Linked DNA regions of Homo sapiens: regions 2, 3 and 4 are each linked to region 1. The links are contacts of gene promoters, found by promoter capture Hi-C in blood cells and fetal thymus (Javierre and others, 2016). All regions are on one chromosome and are shown on one strand. The core of a region is centred on a gene start or on the middle of the fragment in contact, and the rest is flanking DNA. Distances in the headings are between cores, read along the strand shown. Region 1 holds the start of ZDHHC5 (zDHHC palmitoyltransferase 5). Region 2 overlaps TNKS1BP1 (tankyrase 1 binding protein 1). Region 3 overlaps P2RX3 (purinergic receptor P2X 3). Region 4 has its middle 9.6 kb from the start of PRG2.

What was found. The method cuts DNA at HindIII sites, captures the fragments that hold promoters and counts their contacts. A CHiCAGO score of 5 or more calls a contact.
Region 2: a contact is called between a fragment that was not itself captured here and the fragment with the promoter of ZDHHC5 in region 1, in 1 of 17 cell types (fetal thymus). The highest score is 6.6, in fetal thymus.
Region 3: a contact is called between a fragment that was not itself captured here and the fragment with the promoter of ZDHHC5 in region 1, in 14 of 17 cell types (M1 macrophages, M0 macrophages, activated CD4 T cells and 11 more). The highest score is 13.3, in M1 macrophages.
Region 4: a fragment that was not itself captured here is called in contact with the fragment with the promoter of ZDHHC5 in region 1 in 1 of 17 cell types (activated CD4 T cells); the score reaches 5.8 in activated CD4 T cells.

Annotation. Positions count from the first base shown.
Region 1 is chr11:57,665,708-57,670,688 of GRCh38, reverse strand. ZDHHC5 (zDHHC palmitoyltransferase 5) reads right to left here and starts at 2,575. Exons shown (of 12, transcript NM_015457.3): 1 at 2,502-2,575. RefSeq lists enhancers at 1,874-1,943, 1,497-2,134, 2,135-2,774, 2,944-3,523 and silencers at 2,054-2,253, 2,504-2,743. The HindIII fragment of the contact is 3,116 bases long and covers 1,985-4,981 here.
Region 2 is chr11:57,309,253-57,313,261 of GRCh38, reverse strand. It overlaps TNKS1BP1 (tankyrase 1 binding protein 1), which reads left to right. Exons shown (of 12, transcript NM_033396.3): 5 at 1-728; 6 at 2,706-4,009. Among named protein-coding and RNA genes, the nearest start is that of TNKS1BP1, 14 kb to the left of the region's middle. RefSeq lists a silencer at 1,782-1,991. The HindIII fragment of the contact is 3,931 bases long and covers 1-3,480 here.
Region 3 is chr11:57,348,849-57,353,829 of GRCh38, reverse strand. It overlaps P2RX3 (purinergic receptor P2X 3), which reads right to left. Exons shown (of 12, transcript NM_002559.5): 7 at 3,932-4,073; 8 at 2,932-3,068. Among named protein-coding and RNA genes, the nearest start is that of P2RX3, 13 kb to the right of the region's middle. RefSeq lists an enhancer at 3,502-4,001. The HindIII fragment of the contact is 563 bases long and covers 1,601-2,163 here.
Region 4 is chr11:57,397,799-57,402,779 of GRCh38, reverse strand. No RefSeq gene overlaps it. Among named protein-coding and RNA genes, the nearest start is that of PRG2, 9.6 kb to the right of the region's middle. The HindIII fragment of the contact is 3,316 bases long and covers 315-3,630 here.

The DNA of each region.
Region 1 (4,981 bases), core at 1,326-3,825:
CAAACAGCAGTATTAGAATACAGTGAGCGCCAAAAGATTCTAAGAAACTGTTATAGTCCTAGAAAACATAAATCCTCTCTAGTCCCTGATTTAATGATTATTTAACTCTCAGTTTCCTACAGGAATGGAAGCCTAACATTTGGAATGTAGGCCTCAGTAACTTTGTTAACAAAAGCAAACTCTTGATTTGTAGACAATATGTACTTTTTTTTTTTTTTTGAAACACAGTTTCCCTCTGTCACCCAGGCTGAAGTGCATGGTGTGATCTCAGCTCACTGCAACCTCCGAGTCCCGGATTCAAGCAATTCTCCTGTCTCAGCCTCCCGAGCAGCTGGGATTACAGGAGGGCACCACCACACCCAGCTAATTTTGTATTTTTAGTAGAGATGGGGTTTCACCATGTTGCCCAGGCTGGTCTCGAACTCCTGACCTCCAGGTGATCTGCCTCCTCACCCAAAGTGCTGGGATTACAGGTGTGAGACACTCTGCCCAGCCAATATGTACTATTAAAGCAAACTTTTCCCTCAAAATCCCAAAGACTAGAAAAGATGGAAAATTATACTACTTAAATTTTATCTAGAGTAGAATATCATTTAGATACTATATATTGTTTCATATATTTTCCACAGGAAAAAAGTCACATGGACTAATATTGACATAGTAATACAGAGTCATGAAAGGCCATGCAATTTTGGGAGTATAATACTGGGAACACAAAAGAGAACAGCATCTGAGATGCTTGGGGGCTACACAGTAGAAGGGAAATCAAAAACCTAACAATTTATTGGGTATAAATAAAGATGAACCAATTCTTAGCAAAAGAATGTGCTGCAGATACTAGGATGAAACCACAAGGGTGAGTATGGTTCATCAGAGTCAACAGTTTGAATCCATACTAGTATCAAAAAAGTATACAAGAATATGTATGCCAGCTGGGCACGGGGGCTCACGCCTGTAATCCCAGCACTTTGGGAGGCCGAGGCGGGCGGATCATTTGAGGTCAGGAGTTCGAGACCAGCCTGGCCAACATACCAAAACCCTGTCTCTACTAAAAATACAAACAAATGAGCAGGGCGTGATGGGGCATGCCTGAAATCCCAGCTACTAGGGAGGCTGAGACACGAGAATCGCTTGAACCCGGGAGGTGGAAGTTGCAGTGAGCCAAGATAGCAGCCACTGCACTCCAGCCTGGGCGACAGAGCCAGACTCCGTCTCAAAAATGAGAAAAAAAGTAATATGTATGCCATATTGAGGCACAGAGTAAACTATGAAATGGAAATATGTATATGTAAAACAAACAATACAGGATATGTGGTTTGAAGGCTTTAATAAGGTTTAATACAGGTATTTCCTTAAATAGGTGGATACCAGCAGTACCAAGGACAACACAACTATTTTTTGTTGAAATAAGCGGTGTAACAGTACAATAGAGTAAATCTAAATGCACAGTAATGGAGGTACCATGGAATAATTCACATGTCAAGGTATGGGAGAAAGAGCCAAGAAGTTTAATGTGGGTGTTATCATTATATACCGAGGTAGCAAAATACATGGCAATATAATTTTGTAAACATTAAGTTTATACAATGGGTGATAATGAGCATTCTGAAGATATTTGATCCAGGACAGAGGTATACTGAGATAGAAGGATGATATGCAAATGTTAGATCAACTTGGTCAAGATGGCATTAACCAGGAAGTGAAGAATCCAAGGCAAAAAATAGTCTAGCGTATAACGTATATGTGATCCTACAACTGCCTTCCTAACTTTTAGCAACTTTCTTACTTCTTATTTCAGTGTTTCATTTGGCCAAGTGGGTAAAACACTTTCCACCTGCCTGCCCCAAATATAGGTAAAATATTGACAAACGCATTCGGGCTCCACTTTAAAAAGTACAAAGTACTAAACGCATGGAGCACTCGGCTGGTGGCGGTAGGAGGAGGAAGCGGACGGGTGAGAGAGAACAGGTAACAGGATGAAGCTTGAGCCAAAATAAGTATCAGCAGAGTGGAGCGAGGGACTCGAACCGCAGAGCGGTAAAAGGGAAACAGCACCCGGTCCCCACCACGGGACTGGGGAAAGGAGAATCACCCGTTGGGGCAGGGCTGACGACCGCTGAAACCGAAAAGAAGGAATCCACGGCGGCCAGGCCCACCGAGGTTGAGAGAGCGGGCTGCGGGGACCGCAGAGCCCGAGGGCGCAGGGCCGGGGGCGGAAGGGGCGGCGGCTGGGCGCCAGGCACCGGGGACCGCGGTCTCGAGCTGAGTGGCCGTCTCTAACCCGTTCCGAGCCCTGGCGGTCGTGGATCCCCGGCCTCTACTCGTCGTCCGTTTCCAAGGCCCATGGGTCCCGCCGCGGTTGGAAGACCCGGCCCGGAGGAGAAATAGGGCCTTAATACCCTCCCCGTCTTCGGTCCCCCTTCCCTAGAGGTCACCCTCCCCTCCCACCTCGCTGGTACGGCACTTCCGGTTCCGCAGGGACCGGTGTCCTCCGCACTCACCCGCGAGCCCGGTGCCCGTCACCACCGCCGTCGTTGTCACCGCCGCCTCCCGGCAGTGCCGTCCTGCCTCAGAGAAGCAGCGCGCGGCCCCCGCACGCTCCACGCCCGCCCCGCTGCCGCGCGCTCCCGCCAGGCGTCGCTCGTCTCGGAGCCGGCGCGCGGCCGTTGCCCTCAGTGCCGGGTCTCGAACCCTTCCAGCGTTCCCATTGGCTCCCTAGTCCGGGCTCGCGCGACGTCTCGCGCGGCGCACGTTTGTCTCATTCATGCGGCTCGCGCTGCCGCGCCCAACCCCGCTCACTCTCCCATTCACCCATAGCCCCCACCCCGACTCCGATCTGGGGCGTGCGCGCGAACCCTGGCGACCGCGGCGACCTCGCGGCCTGATTGGCTGCAGCAACACAACGACGTACGCACGCGAGAAGACGAGAGCGCGCACGTAAGGCCGTGGGGTTGCGGGGACAACTAAGAGACAAGGATTGGCCTAATGCACAGGAGTCAGGAATGAGGAAATGGCCAGGCGAGTCTTCCCTTCTCCTGCGTCCTGTTGTATTCCCACTGAATCCAAGCAAAAACCCCCGGAAATAAGAAAAGAATTATGTGTGTGTACTAGAAGTACTCAAAAGCAAGCAGCTACCTTCTCGAATTCAGCAACCCCTCTCCTACTGAGGTGGTACAGTCCAGACAGGCTTCCAGCGCAGCCAATTACCGACGACTATCGCCGCTTCCTGCTTCAGCCCCTTCGCGGCGGATTGGCCAACCATTTGGCGACTAGGCCTCCCTCTTCTCCTTCCCATCTCCTTTTTTTTTTTTTTTTTTTTTTTTGATGGCAAAAACTTTATTTAAAACAATCTTGCTGGAGAAATCTTCAGTCCGGCGAGGTCGCTGGTCCGGGCAGAATCCAGGGCGATGGAATGGTCTGGGCTGTGTCTCCCACATGAAGGGGACGCCCGGACTTGAAGAGCCAATGTAGGGCGAGGCTCCTGCCAAGGGCCGGGGAGGGAGATGAAGAAGAGCAGGCGCCAGCCTTGGAGCCGTAGCGCTAACCGTGAGAGGGAAGCCTAAGGAGCGCGCGACCTGAGGCGGTGGCAGCACCCTCCCGCCCCCGGAGTGCGAGCCGGGAAGTGAACTCCCTGAATTCCATTAGTTTCCCACTGTCACACGTGGGATGGGCGCCCGCATCCCTCACCTCACCCAATCCTAGAATACAAAGCTAAAAGCAAAAGGTTCTCTAGAATAGCTACTGTCCCTGGCGAGCTAACTCTGCATAGGTCATAGTGCTACGCTTTGCCCTGATTAGCCCAAGACAGCTGTGAACCCAATAGCAATGCCCCATGTTCTCTCCCCATTCGGCTCGAGGCTATTTCTTTTTTCGAAAGCAACTCTAGCTATTACATAATGGTCCCTCAAAAAGGTGTTTCACAAGCCACTTCCCTGAAGCCGAGGCCCCTCACCTGTAAAATCCTGAGGACTGTCCTCGGGTTTGGTCTCAAATGTTGCTGGCTTTACTGTGGTTCTGACACTAGCATTAGGCAGTAAGGTAAAAGAGAACTACCTTCTGTTTTCTGGAATCTAGTTCCTTCTCTGACATGGCATATATTATAAGTTCTAGTTTATTCTTGTTAACAGCGTCAATCCAGCATTTATTGCAACACACTTGAGAGTTCTTTATAACGACTTTATATTTTTAAAACAGACCTGGCCTGGCGTGGTGGTTCACACCTGTAATCCCAGCACTTTGGGAGGCCAAGGCAGGCGGATCACGAGGTCAGGTGCTCAAGACCAGCCTGGCCAACATAGTGAAACTCCCTCTACTAAAAATACAAAAATTAGTCGGGCATGGTCGGGGGAGCCTGTAATCCCAGCTACTCGGGAGGCTGAGGCAGGAGAATTGCTTCAACCCGGGAGGCAGAGGTTGCCGTGAGCCGAGACCACACAACTTCACTCCAGCCTGGGCAACAGAGCAAGACTCCGTCTCAAAACAAAACAAAAACCTCTTTAGACCATATGAAAGGTAAATTATTGAAGATACAATATTGATATTTTATTTTTTACTTTTTGAGAGGGAGTCTCACACTGTCACCCAGGCTGGAGTGCAGTGGCGCGATCTCAGCTCATGGCAACCTCCTCCCGGGTTCAAGCAATTCTCATGCCTCAGCCTCCTGAGTAGCTGGGATCACAGGCATGTGCCACCACACCTGGCTAATATTTGTATTTTTAGTAGAGATGGGGTTTCACCATGATGGCCACATTGGTCTGGAACTCCTGACCTCAAATGATCCTCCCACCTCGGCCTCCCAAAGTGCTGAGATTACCGGTGTGAGCCACAGTGCCCGGCCTGATATTGGCATTTTCTACCTGTAAGCCATGTTTCTTTAAGATGAAGTCAGCTTTCATTTTTCTGTTGCAATATTTTTCTTGGATTTTTAGACTTCCTGATTTCCTCCACAAATTAGGCATTTTTATTTTCCTTTCAGCTGTCT
Region 2 (4,009 bases), core at 266-2,765, 360 kb after region 1:
TCGAATGGACCTTCCCCACGAGGCCCTCGGGTCTGGGCGTGTGGCGGCTGGACTCCCCGCCTCCCTCCCCCATCACTGAAGCCAGTGAGGCCGCCGAGGCTGCTGAGGCTGGCAACTTGGCCGTTTCCAGCAGGGAAGAAGGAGTGTCTCAGCAGGGGCAAGGGGCTGGGTCAGCTCCAAGTGGGTCAGGAAGTTCCTGGGTGCAGGGGGATGATCCAAGCATGTCCCTCACCCAGAAGGGCGATGGGGAGAGTCAACCTCAATTCCCAGCTGTTCCCCTTGAGCCCCTGCCTACAACTGAGGGCACACCTGGATTACCTTTGCAGCAGGCAGAGGAGAGATACGAGTCGCAGGAGCCCTTGGCTGGACAGGAGTCCCCTCTCCCCCTGGCTACCAGGGAGGCAGCCTTGCCCATCCTGGAGCCAGTCCTGGGGCAGGAGCAGCCAGCAGCCCCTGACCAGCCCTGTGTTCTCTTTGCTGATGCCCCTGAGCCTGGACAGGCACTGCCTGTTGAGGAGGAGGCCGTGACCCTAGCCCGGGCTGAGACCACCCAAGCCAGGACAGAGGCTCAAGACTTGTGTAGGGCATCCCCCGAGCCTCCAGGCCCTGAAAGCAGCTCCCGCTGGCTGGACGACCTCCTGGCTTCACCACCACCCAGTGGTGGCGGTGCAAGGCGGGGAGCTGGAGCTGAGCTGAAGGACACACAGTCCCCAAGTACCTGCTCTGAGGTGAGAATGGGCATAGGGAGAATGGGACTTCTGGGGACAGAGGCCAGGGCTTGGGTGGGCTTCATTCTTTGAACATGGATTTTACATGTCGAGAGCTTGGGCTGTGGTAGTGAGCAAGGCAGCTGTGGACCTGCAGATTGTAGCTCTGCAGAGCCACACAGGACGGTGTGTGTGTGGGGTTTCGTGTGAGGCTCTATCCCAGCTCCAGCAATCGCTAGCTGATTGGTCTTGGGAAGAACGTACCTTAACTGCTGGGCTTCAGAGTGCTTTCCTGATAGTAGCATTGGCCTCTTAGAGTTATATTGTGGGTAAATCGAGGTGGAAAGCTCTCGGCACAGTGCGTGGCAGGTGCTGAGTATTCAGTCTCTCATTATGGGAATATCGTTCAAGGCAAAATAGTGTAGCCATTTAGAGCGTGGGCTCCTGGGTTCATCTCCTGGCTCTGCTTTCCTTTGCCCAGGTGTGACCTTAAAAGAGTGACTTTTCTGCCCTCTGCCTCAGTTTCCACATCTGTAAAATGTGGATAACAAGATGAGTTCTACCTCCAAGGGTGTTGGCAAGGGTTCAATGAGCTGTAATGTCTAAAGTGCTAAGAATAGTGCCTGGCTCATCCTAAGTGCTTAAGAAGTGTTGGCTTTTACAAACGTTATTAACATTGAGCTCCAGACCTGCTTTGTAGACAGGCAGCTGGGCCTCAGAGGAGGTTAGCCTTGTGCAGTTATCCAGCAAGTTGGTGGCTGGGCCCGGGCCAGCGCCGTTTCCCGGCCCAGTGCCCTTTCTCCTACCAGGCTGCCTCTGAATTTAAGGGCCGGGGGCCAGGTGGCTTTCGAAATTTATTTCTCAAGCCGGGCCTGGGCTGCAAGGGGCGGGGCTGCAGGAAAGGAGGAGCCAGGGGGCCTCTGGGGGCTGCGGGGCGGGGAGAAGGAGGAGCAGGAAGGGGTTAAGCTGACTCCTGTAGTAGGTGTGTCTGTCCCGGGATGTGGGTGACTCAACTGGCTCCTGGGCGGGGCTGCCCAAGCTGCAGCTGCTCCGGAGGGAGCAGGGCCAGGGTGAGGGAGAGCCAGCGCCAGAGCCGTCGGACAGGTCCCAGCGCGGGTAGCAGCCCAGCTCTATCCCTGCGCCCGGCTGGCCGCACCCAGCAGCCCCAAGGCGGGTTGGGGGCGGGGGGCCATGGCCCAGCCTGGGGATGGGGAGGCCAGCATGTCTATCCTGGAGCGGCTGCTGGCCAACGCTGCGCTGAGGGATGAGGCTGGCCGGCTCCGAAGCCCTGAGCCCAGGGCTCTCCCGCCCACAAGGGTGAGTCAGGGAGCGTGAGGTGGGGGGTGGGGTGCAAGAAGCCCTGGCTGGGATTTTCCCCTGTGCCAGAGGCTGCCCCTCTTGTCTTTCCTGGGCCAGGGTGAGGGCTGAGAGGTCTTCCTGGGGAAGATTGAGCAGACGGCACTTTGGCTGGGGAAGAAGGGCCTGGGTACTTATAGGAGGATGGGGGTCAGATGGGGCATGGGGGAGGACGGGCTGGAAAAGCTGTCATTGGTGTTGGAACCTTGCCTTGCAAGGGAAGTCGCAGAGAGGCTTTGAATCTTGACCTCTCCTAATCAAAAGGAAAGTGCACTGCCTGCCATTCCTGTGTGAAGACCACTCCTCTCCTGGCTGTTAGCCAAGTATTGCCCAAGAGTTGTAAACATGACCATGGGACCATCGATTGAGTGCCCACTGCATGCCAAGCACTATGCTGAGTGCTTGGTCTAAATGATCTCATTTAATCCTCTCACACCAGCCCCATGCAATAGGAATTATCCTCGTTTAAGGATGAGGACGCTGAGACCCAGAGTGGTTAAGTGATTTGCTCAAGGTCACACAGCTTTCTGTTGCCAAAGTGGGGCTTTCAGGCACTAGGCAGCGCTGACTCTGCTGGATTGACTCCCACCCTGATGGAATCTAATCGTTGTTTCTTTGTCTGTTTTTTTTTCTTATTCCCAGGGACTCCTTGGCTGGTCCCAGAAAGATCTGCAGAGTGAATTTGGGATCACAGGAGACCCACAGCCCAGCAGTTTCAGTCCTTCCAGCTGGTGTCAAGGTGCTTCTCAGGACTATGGCCTTGGGGGTGCAAGCCCTAGAGGAGACCCAGGTCTCGGAGAGAGGGACTGGACCAGCAAGTATGGGCAAGGAGCAGGGGAAGGGAGCACCAGGGAGTGGGCCAGCAGGTGTGGCATCGGCCAGGAGGAGATGGAGGCCAGCAGCAGCCAAGACCAGAGTAAAGTGTCTGCCCCAGGGGTGCTCACAGCCCAGGACCGGGTAGTTGGAAAGCCAGCCCAGCTTGGCACTCAGCGGAGCCAGGAGGCAGATGTTCAGGACTGGGAGTTCAGAAAGAGGGATTCCCAGGGCACTTACTCCAGCCGGGATGCAGAACTCCAGGACCAGGAATTCGGAAAGAGAGATTCACTGGGTACCTACAGTAGTCGAGATGTAAGCCTTGGGGACTGGGAATTTGGGAAGAGAGATTCTCTGGGTGCTTATGCCAGCCAAGATGCCAACGAGCAGGGCCAAGATTTGGGGAAGAGGGACCACCATGGTAGGTACAGCAGCCAGGATGCCGATGAGCAGGACTGGGAGTTTCAGAAGAGAGATGTGTCACTCGGCACCTATGGCAGCCGGGCTGCGGAGCCACAGGAACAGGAGTTTGGGAAGAGCGCTTGGATAAGGGACTACAGCAGTGGTGGCAGCTCCAGGACCCTTGACGCCCAGGACAGAAGCTTTGGAACGAGACCCCTGAGCTCTGGGTTCAGCCCCGAGGAAGCCCAGCAACAGGATGAGGAATTTGAGAAGAAGATTCCAAGTGTGGAAGACAGCCTTGGAGAGGGCAGCAGGGATGCTGGCCGGCCAGGAGAGAGAGGATCCGGGGGCTTGTTCAGTCCTAGCACTGCCCACGTGCCGGATGGGGCACTCGGGCAGAGAGACCAGAGCAGCTGGCAAAACAGTGATGCTAGCCAGGAGGTGGGAGGGCATCAGGAGAGACAGCAGGCAGGGGCTCAGGGCCCTGGCAGTGCTGACCTGGAAGATGGGGAGATGGGAAAGCGAGGCTGGGTCGGTGAGTTTAGCCTCAGTGTTGGCCCCCAGCGAGAGGCAGCATTTAGCCCAGGGCAGCAGGACTGGAGCCGGGACTTCTGCATCGAGGCCAGTGAGAGGAGCTATCAGTTTGGCATCATTGGCAACGACAGAGTGAGTGGTGCTGGCTTTAGCCCTTCTAGCAAGATGGAAGGTGGTCACTTTGTGCCTCCTGGGAA
Region 3 (4,981 bases), core at 633-3,132, 320 kb after region 1:
TTGGAAGGGAGCTGCGAATGTAATTAGTGATGGAAATGTGAATCTCTAGCTGCCTCTGGATGTCTTAGTTAGCAGATTCAAACACGGCCGAATCTTGGCTGAATAATTCCATTCCCTCCAGAGCAAATGGCAACAGTAGGGGTGTTGAAAAATCTGCCTCTGTTGGAGGGAGCAGCAAATGAATTGTTTGGGAGACAAAAGGCCGGGCTATGAATTGTGCTGCCAGCATCTGCTAGTCTTGAAATCTCCTTGGAACTTAGATTCTTTGTTTTTAAGCTGGGATGAAAGTGTCAACCACATAGGCATGCTTTTTTTTCTGAGGATTAACAAGTACAAATGTCCCTAGTCTTCCTGGCTGGGGTGGAGATCATCCAAAGAAATATGTTTTGAATCCAGGCTCCCCCTCTTGCTTGCTTTGTGACTTTGAGAATGTTATTTAACAGTGAGACTCCATCTTCTCCTTTATAAAGTTGGGGGGGATATTGTAGCATCTACTTCGTAGGGCATGCAAGGAATGCTGAGCTGAAGCACACAAAACGTTTTGCACACAGGGTGACTAGTATGGTTTCTACTGATAAGTAGCTTGGTGAGATTCTAAAAAACAGCGTACATCTTACCATATCATAGAAAGTGCACTGTGACCCGCACTGAACCTGGCTTTGTGACCCTTTCTCTCTTATTCAAGCATTCAGAAAGACAGCTTTGCAGCCTCCCACACGTGGGCTCTTAGCTTAGCCTTGGGTGCCAGTAGTTTGAGGTTGCATGAGGGTGGTGGGTGGGCACCCAGGTGAAGGGATGGGAAGGGGCTTGGGCAGAGCCCTCTGCTTGCCACTGATATCAGATGTCCCCCAATGTCAGGGCTATTACTTGGGCCCTCTGGAAACTTTTAAATCACAAGGGTCAAACTAAGCAGCTTTGCCTCCTTCTTCTCTGGCCTGGGGGACTTTGTTGGGGGAGTCAATTATCTGAGATCCTAAGAGGGGGTGGTTTCTCTTAGGCCTCTGGGAATTATGCAGGCAGGGTCTTTGGGGATATTCCGTCCTGCCTCCCCAAATACCCTCCAAGCTTATTTAGGACCAGGTCTATCCCGCATCCTTCTGTGCTCAGGTGGGGAGGGAGGGAAGGCAGCCACAGTGCAATAAATTGGAGATAAAGAACTCCAGACCAATTCTTATTTAGATGAGAGATGCTGTTCTAAAACTGTACGATATCAGTAGTTGGGGGTCTTTATAATATTCACATTCTTCATAAGCTTTTCTGCCAAATGAGTTATTTGGAGGATTAAAGAATTCCCAATGGCCAAAGGGAAGTTATGAAGATGAAAACTTGCATTTTAGATCATGAGAATTTTATTAATATGTTACTATTTTAAGCCACCATACAAATATCCTTTGTATTGATCTCAGTGTGATATACCAACTGAATAAATATGCCAATTTCTGCCAGTGAGCCGCACAGTATTTTTAACCTACTTTAAAATATGTGTTGTTTCCTATGGTTTTTTTAAAGTTTGGAGTTGATGATGAAAGTACTTCAATTTTTAAAGATTCTTCTTTCCAGAGAATATACATGTATATTTTAAACTATTAAATATAAAGCTTAATGGGGTGGGTGATTATTTTTTTAAGTTATAAATTAACAATTTTAAAAGGTGAAATGATTATTTTTGGCTTACGTATGCCATTGTATCAGAGAATACCACCTCAACAAAGGAAATTTGAGTAACATTTATTTGAATATATTCAAATATACATTCTTATGTTCAAATGTAAATGAAATATATTCTTATGTATTTTTTTCCCCTGGTCACTCCCTATTTGTTCTATTTAAGCTGTTTAGTGTATAATGCTGTGTACTTAAACAGGGCCCTGCCAGAAACTTCAGGATCTTCAAAAACTGGGGGAAATCCACAATGTATACATGTATCAAAACATCACATTGTATCCCATATATATGCAATTGTTATTTATCAATTAAAAAGAAAACAAAACCTTTAATAAGTAGTGTTGACCTTGTAGTCTACACTTTGAGAACTGCTAACCTAAGATAACTGAGTACGGTCCTCAGCACGTAGTAGACAATTGGTATGTGTTTAATGGATGAATCAATAAATGAATGATTCAGAAAAAAAAGAAGAGAGAAACAAAACAGAAAGCTGAAGCTTTTCACACATTGGTTAATTGAATCCTGAAGATCACAGTGGTACTATCACAATTTCATAGGTGGGGAAATTAGGATGGGAGAAGACAAATGGCTTGTTCAAGCGCTTTCAGTTGCTTCCAAACAGTTTGTCCTCTAATTCCTCTCTCCCTTTCTTCAAAATGGAAAAACAAAACAAAACAAAACCCGAAAAGATCCCTGAAGTCTCAAAGCCATTGGGATGATATTTAAAGACTGGTCTGAGTTCTTGTTTGGAGAGGCATTGAAGAACCAGAGACAATTATAATTGCTACTGGTGACACACGTTTGCGGAGAGAAATGCAAAGTTGCCATCTTGTAAAATGTAAAATGATACCAGTTATCACCCTTACTTTGTAGAGCGAGAAACCTTAGAAAATTCAGGCCCAGGGCAGGGAATGGGCCTATCTGGAAGTCACTTAAGCACGTCACAGTTTCAGGCCAGTGTTAGGAACAGGCAAAGAATCGCAGAACCCTAGCATTTCAAGAGACCTTGGCCCTCTCTTCTAACTACTGACCTGCAGCAGGAATCCTTGGCGTGGTCCCCTTCAGTGATAAGGAGACACTGTCTCCCAGGACAACCAGCTAGATCCTAATGGCTGTTAGAGAGTCCTTCCTGATTTGAAATGAAACCTGAGGTGGGACTTGGGGCCAGGGGTGGGTGGATGGATGTGGGATCTTGTCTCCCCAATAAACATTGCCGTTAACAGCCCGCACCTTCTTCTCCTGGTGTCCCAGGAGACAGGGAATTACCTGAAGTTGTAGCCTGGGGACACGCTGCTTTTCTCAGAAACGCTGTCGAGCCGGGTGAAGGAGTATTTGGGGATGCACTGGTCCCAGGCCTTGTCCAAGTCGCACACCCAGCCGATCTTAATGCCCAGAACTCCCCCCTGAAGAAACGGGCCGGGTATGAGCTTTCCCCTCGCCCTCTGACTCCCTGCTCTGGGCCAGGGTGGGGGTGGGGTGGAGGTGGTGACAAATGATTTCCTCCCATCCTCCAGGTGGGAGACGGAGGCAGGGAGAACGGAAAGTGACATGTCATATACTGCTCAGTAAAGAAGTGCTGTGGTGGCCGGGTGCGGTGATTCACGCCTGTAATCCCAGCACTTTGGGAGGCCGAGGCGGGCGGATCACGAGGTCAGGAGATCGAGACCATCCTGGCTAACACGGCGAACCCCTGACTCTACTAAAAATACCAAAAATTAGCCGGGCTTGGTCCCAGCTACTCCGGAAGCTGAGGCAGGAGAATGGCGTGAACCTGGGAGGCGGAGGTTGCAGTGAGCCGAAATCGCGCCATGCACTCTAGCCTGGGAGACAGATCGAGACTCTGTCTCAAAAAAAAAAAAAAAAAAAAAGGTTGTGGCTCGGATGCGAACATTGGAGCCTCTGAGTCCTAATTTTGGGATCTTCAGTGCTTTAGCTACAACACAGGAGAAAGTGGCCACAGGTCTACTTTCCCGTCGTTTGGGGCTTATTACAGATCTAAGGCCTTTGCCTGAGGTGAAGTGTGAAGATGGGAGTGGGAAACTGAGGCTTGAGGAAGGTGGACTCGGCGGAGGCGGGGGGCAAGATCGCTCTGCGCGGGGAAAGCAGAAAGGATTCAGGCACAAAGCCAGTGGCGGCCTGGGATGCTTCCACCAGGTGGCGCTGTCTCGCGGCGGCTCCTGGCCAGTGCCGGCCAAAGGGCCCTGAAATCTGGGAAAGGGCTGAAGGTGGGGAGTTTGGGGTCGCGGAAGAATGGCTAGGTCCTCACCGTGCGCGCCAGTTTGGCAAAATCCTGCCCCGCAAACTTGACCACGTCCCCTACCCGCAAGATGGGGCAGAAAGGGTCCTTGTCCGGGTGGAAGCGGCAGGTCTTCATGTCCCTGGCTGTCAGGTTGGGAAGGAGGTTTCCCCTGGGGAGGAGCAGAGAGAGAGGTCAGCCCAGGGTTCATGGGAAGATCGTCTTGTGCAATCTCTCCCCGCCTTCCGGAGCCCAGGCCTAGGGGGGATCTGAGCCCTCAGCCTTCATCTGGACCTCGCCATCTCCCTCCCCTCTTTCCTTTCCCTGCATCTTTCTGGTGCCCCATCACCGCCTTCCCTGTGTATCAGGGTGATGTATGTCGGTGACTAATCTCCAGCTGCCAGGCTGGGAGTTCGAGAGGGCAGGAATCATTCTTGGTTACTCTGTGCATTTTTTTTTTTTTGAGACGGAGTCTCGGTCTGTTGCCCAGGCTGGAGCGCGGTGGCATGATCTCGGCTCACTGCAACCTCTGCCTCCCAGGTTCAAGCGATTCTCCTGCCTCAGTCTCCCAAGTAGCTGGGATTACAGGGGTGTGCCACGGCGCCTGGCTAATTTTTTTTTTTTTTTTTTGGTACAGACAGGGTTTCACCATGTTGGCCAGGCTGGTCGCAAACTCCTGACCTCGTGATCCACCCTTCTCGGCCTCCCAAAGTGCAGGGATTACAGGCATTTGTCACTGCGCCTGGCCTAGTGCACTTCTGTAGTGACTGGCATTGCCCTCTGCACATGGCCAATGCCCACTGAGTAGCTGTGGAATGAGTAAGTCAATGAAGGGGGGCTGAACTGACTAAGAGAAAAGGGATTTCCACACATGGGCTAGATGTGGGGAAAAAGAATGGGACGAGACCGAAAGGGTTTCAACCGTTGAAGGCATCCTTGACCCACGACTAGGCCTAAGTTGTCCCTCTCCTACCCCAAGCAAAACTCCCGTTTGGGTCTGAGCCCCAAGGTGGGGAGGCTGGCAGAGAAACTGACCCCAAAGTTCACCTGATCCTCAGTGGCCAAGGCCCGCTGGGAGAT
Region 4 (4,981 bases), core at 723-3,222, 270 kb after region 1:
ACTGTACTTTAGCTGAAGGTGCTGGCAGGTCCTGCCCAGGTGCTGCTAAGAACACTTCTATTCTGTGAGAATCAGAGATGATTTCTAGGGAAAATGGGCGAGAGGGAGTAAGCAGGAGAAACAACCCACAGGCACAGCTCTCATCTTTCTGCCCTGAGAGCCTTCCTCCTGCCACGTGGTTTTGTTTGTTTGTTTGTTTGTTTGTTTCAGATAGGGTCTCACTCTGTCACCCAGGCTGGAGTGTAGTGGCAAGATCATGGCTCACTGAAGCCTCGACCTCCCAGGCTCAAGCAGTCCTCCCCAAATTCAAAGCTTGGAGTGATGGTCCCAGTGGTTATGTCTAGGAGCCCTTTTTCCTGCCAGCCCCTCAGGGGATTGATGACTCTCAAATGCTTCAGGTGTGACATGGGCACAGCAGTGAGTCATTCCTCTGACATTCTTTGGGAAGAACATTTTCCATCCAGGCTTCCAGGCATAAGATCCAGTCCTCTGGTGATAAGGAGTTCACAGACAGGACAATGTCTGAGTGTATCTTAAACCCAGGACCATGGCTTGTGTTCACACCAGACCCTCCAGGGATTTTGAGGTGTTTTGTTTGTTTGTTTGTTTGTTTGTTTGTTTTTTGAGACAGAGTCTCTCTCTGTCGCCAGGCTGGAGTGCAGTGGCACGATCTCAGCTCACTGCAACCTTCGCCTCCCGGTTCAAGCGATTCTCCTGTCTCAGCCTCCTGAGTAGCTGGGACTACAGGTGTGCACCACCACACCCGGCTAATTTTTGTATTTTTAATAGAGACTGTGTTTCACCATGTTGGACAGGATGGTCTTGATCTCTTGACCTCGTGATCCTCCCGCCTCGGCCTCCCAAAATACTGGGATTACAGGCATGAGCCACCGTGGCCCGCCCAATTTTGAGTTTTTATGTTCTAATCCCAAACATCTGCTCACAGGCCCCTCAGCATATTCTTTCCTGGGTCCAGTGTCACCTCCCAGGCCTGCAGGCTGGCTAGAGCAGTAGGGTGTGTGGGAAAGCTCTGGGCTTTGCAGGCACTGATCAGCTGTGTGACCTTAACCACCCTGAACCTCAGTTTCCTCACCTGTAATGGAAATAGGTACCACGGCAGTTTGTTGCAAGGACTAGAGAGTAACCTTGGGAATAAAAGGTAGCAGCAGCTTGGGCTCTGGAGATGGACTGTCCAAGACCAACTTCCAGTTCCTCCCCACACAAGCTCTGGCACTTAGATTCCTGGTACCTCCGCTGCTTCATCTGTAAAATGGAGTAACAATAGGAATACTTTATAGAGTTGTAAGGATTGAGTGGCTGGATGAACGTCAAGCACTTCAAAGGGGACCTGGCATGTAGTGAGTGATCAATATAAACCACCTGGCTTGTAGCAGGTGTGCTGTGTGTGGCTGCAGGTGTTATTAGTAACATCTGTGTGCCCTTCAGAGCGTGCACCACACTTCACACCTTGTGGAGTCTGGAATGCCACTATTATAGTTCAGGATAGAAAACCTCCCTGCAAGCACTCGCTTTAGCTTGTCTCCACCGAACAAAACAACACAAGTTCTTTATTACTTGGAATGGGAAAACTTCAAAGGCAAAAAAAAAAAAAGACTTTCGAGTTACCCCAAATCTTAAGCCAAAGTCAATGAAAAATATCAATCTTCATATTCAATTTTTGCGATACTTTTGTCTCCCCAGCAGTCAATGGAGAGAATCCAAGCACACAGAAATGTCAATTACCAGGGGCAGGGCTATGAATTCCTTTCAGAGCCCTGGGCTGGGGAAGAGTGCAGGCAGACAGATCTGGGTCCTGTTATCACGTTCTTAGATTGGGTGTCCTTGTAGGAGTCATGAAGCATCTTAGTGCCTTTGTTTGCTACCTATAATGCCTACCTCAGAGAGTAATAAGGATAAGTAAGGCTCTACGTGAAAAGTGCTCGGCCCTGGCACATAGTAGGTCCTTCATTAATGGCAGCTACTAATTTTTATTACATACGCAAAATCACATTACAGGTCAAGTACGCTACATGACAGTGAAACAGTTTTTTTGTTTGTTTGTTTTGAGACAGAGTCTCGCTCTGTCACCCAGGCTGGAGTGCAGTGGCACGATCTTGGCTCACCGCAACTTCTGCCTTCAAGCAATTCTCCTGTCTCAGCCTCCCGAGTAGCTGGGATTACAGGCATGTGCCACCACGCCAGCTAATTTTTTTTGGTATTTTTAGTAGAGACGGGGTTTCACCATATTGGCCAGACTGGTCTCAAACTCCTGACCTTGTGATCTGCCCAACTCAGACTCCCAAAGTGCTGGGATTACTGGCATGAGCCACCGCACCTGGCTGTGAAACAGTTTTATTGTGTTTCTGTGGAATGTGTCCTACCCAACCTATAGCTAACTCCTATAGTTCCCTCAGTTCTCAGCTCAGATATCCCTTCCTTTCTGTACTGTTACCTAGTACTGGTTTTCATAGCACCAGGTACCTCTCTGGCATAGAGCTTGTCACAGTTGCAGTTTAATGTACCATCATAGGATTTTAAAAATATTCAGTTGTGTCTTCCATTAGGCTTTCATTTGGGAACTCCACGCAGGCAGCAGCTGTATATTTTGTATTGCCTACTGTATCCTGAGAACTTTGTACCCTACTTAGCACAGAATGGAGGCTCAGTAAATACTGGACATGAGAGAGAGAGAGAGAGAGAGAGGAGAGGGAGAGAGAGAGAGAGAGATTCAACCTACAATCCCAGCTCTGAGCTTCTAGTTCCCTGATGGTGAGGACTGTGATGTGTCTCACACGGTAATGAGCACTTATGCAGAAGAGGCTCAGAAAATTTCTCCTCATGGCCAACGGAAGACTTAGAGTTCTTTTCCAAGCTCCACCGTTTGCTGGCATGCAAAATTTGGACTATCACTTAAGTTTTCCAAGCCTTGCTTTTTCTATCCCTAACATAGGACAATATTCAGCATTGTTGTTTGTTTGTTGGGGGCACCATGTTTCAGGCACTTAGTAGATTATTGTACCACCACATTTCAATTGGTCCTCCTCAAGCCCTGCAACATCTGTGAGGTGGTCATCCTTAACAACTCACAGATGAGCAACAGGAGACTGGGGGGATGAGGGAACTGCCAAGGAGGTCCAGCTTATGGGCAGCAGAGCCAAGAATGGAACCAGGGTCTTTTATTTTTTTATTTTTTTATTTTTATTTTTTAACCAGGGTCTTTTAACATCCGAGGACCACATTCTTTGTGCTTTCCAAATCATCACCTGCCCCATGCAACTTACAGGGTAAGTTACATTAAACAACGTATGTAAATGGCTTTGTGCTAGTTATTCACCACCACAGGGGAAGTGAGTCACGGACAAGAGTGCAGCCGCTCCATTCGGATCCTGGCTCTGACACTTACCTGGAAAATGACTTAACCATTCCCAGGATCAGCTGTTTGTCTGTAATTTAGGTAGTTTAATGGCACTTGTGTCCTAGAGTTGTTTAGAAGGTTGAATAATATGGAGCACTTAACATACTTAGCACCTAGAAACACTTCCTAAATATTAGTTGCTGCTGTTGTTATCGTTATTAAAATTTCTGCCTAAGATCTCATTTCAGGGAGCCCAACTCAATCTTTGACAAGCTTAAACAAAAATTGCTTTTCTTCATTTATTCACTTACACAGCAAACATGAATTGAGCCTGTACTGTGTTTCCAGAACTGTGCAGGACCAGAGAGGCACAGGTGAAGGAAGCAAGGCTCTGGCTCTACTGGGGAAACAGCAAGAAGATTGCTACAATGAGGTGGGAAGAGGGCTGGACTAGAGAGAAGCCCTGATTAGTGTCCTTGCTACCTTTCTCTGGGAGAGCCAAGGCAGGCTTCCTGGAAGAGGTGATCCTTGGCTGAAACTTCGATGAAGAAAAGGAAAGAGCGCAGTGGTTAGGGAGGAAAGGGCATTCTGGGCAGATGAAATGACATGTGACAAAATATGGGTGATCATGGCATGTTAGGAAAATAGCAGGGTGTTCAACATGATTGGAGCACTGTGTGTGTGTGGTGAGGGGGAGAATTGAGGTTGTCAAGAAGTGGTTCTCAACTGAGCATAGTTTTGCCTCAGAGGGGACATTTGGTAATGTCTGCAGACATTTTTTGATTGTCACAGCCCAGCCGAGAAGGTACTACTAGTATCTTTTTGGTAGAGGCTAGAGAGGCTGCTAAACATCTAACAATGCACAGGACAGGCCTCTGTAACAAAAAAGTATCCAGTCAAAAATGTCCACAGTGTTGAGAGGTTTAGGTAAGTAGGCGCTAAAACATAAGGAGACTGTGCCTGAGAGCAAGAAGGAGTAATTGGAAAGTGCTGGTGTGATTAGCTCTGGGTTTTAGAAAGCTCATTTTGGCTGCTTGTAGACAGTGCATCAGAGGTGGAGGAGGGTGGTAAGACTGGAGGCAGGGAAAGTAATTTGGGAGCCACTGAAATGATCCAGGTGAAAAACGGTCAGCAGGTGACTAGGAAAGTGGCAGAGGCAATGGGGATGGGTGGCTGGATGAGATGGTGAAGAAAGCACTATAACTAACTAATGTGTGGATGATGGGCAGGAGGGGTGAAGGATGACCAGAGTCCTGCCTTGCAGGTCTAGTTGGAAGGTGATGGTTTCTCCTGAGAAAGTGACCACAAAAAGTGAAGCAGGTTTGTGCGTGTGTGTGTGTGTGTGTGTGTGTGTGTGTTGAGTTCAGTCTGAGATGTGTTGGACTCACAATGTCCATGGGACATCCAAGTGGAGAAGCATCTTGGGTGACCATATGTGTGAGTCTGCAGCTCAGAAACAGGCCTGGGGCTGGAGATGAAGACTTGGGAATGATCTGCGTATATATTTGGTAGCTTGAGCCACAAGAGTAGATGACATAACCCGTGGTGGGTGTGCAGAATTAGGAGAGACGTGCACCAAGAAGCCAGGTGATCCCCAATATTTAACCATCTGGAAGAATAAGAGGA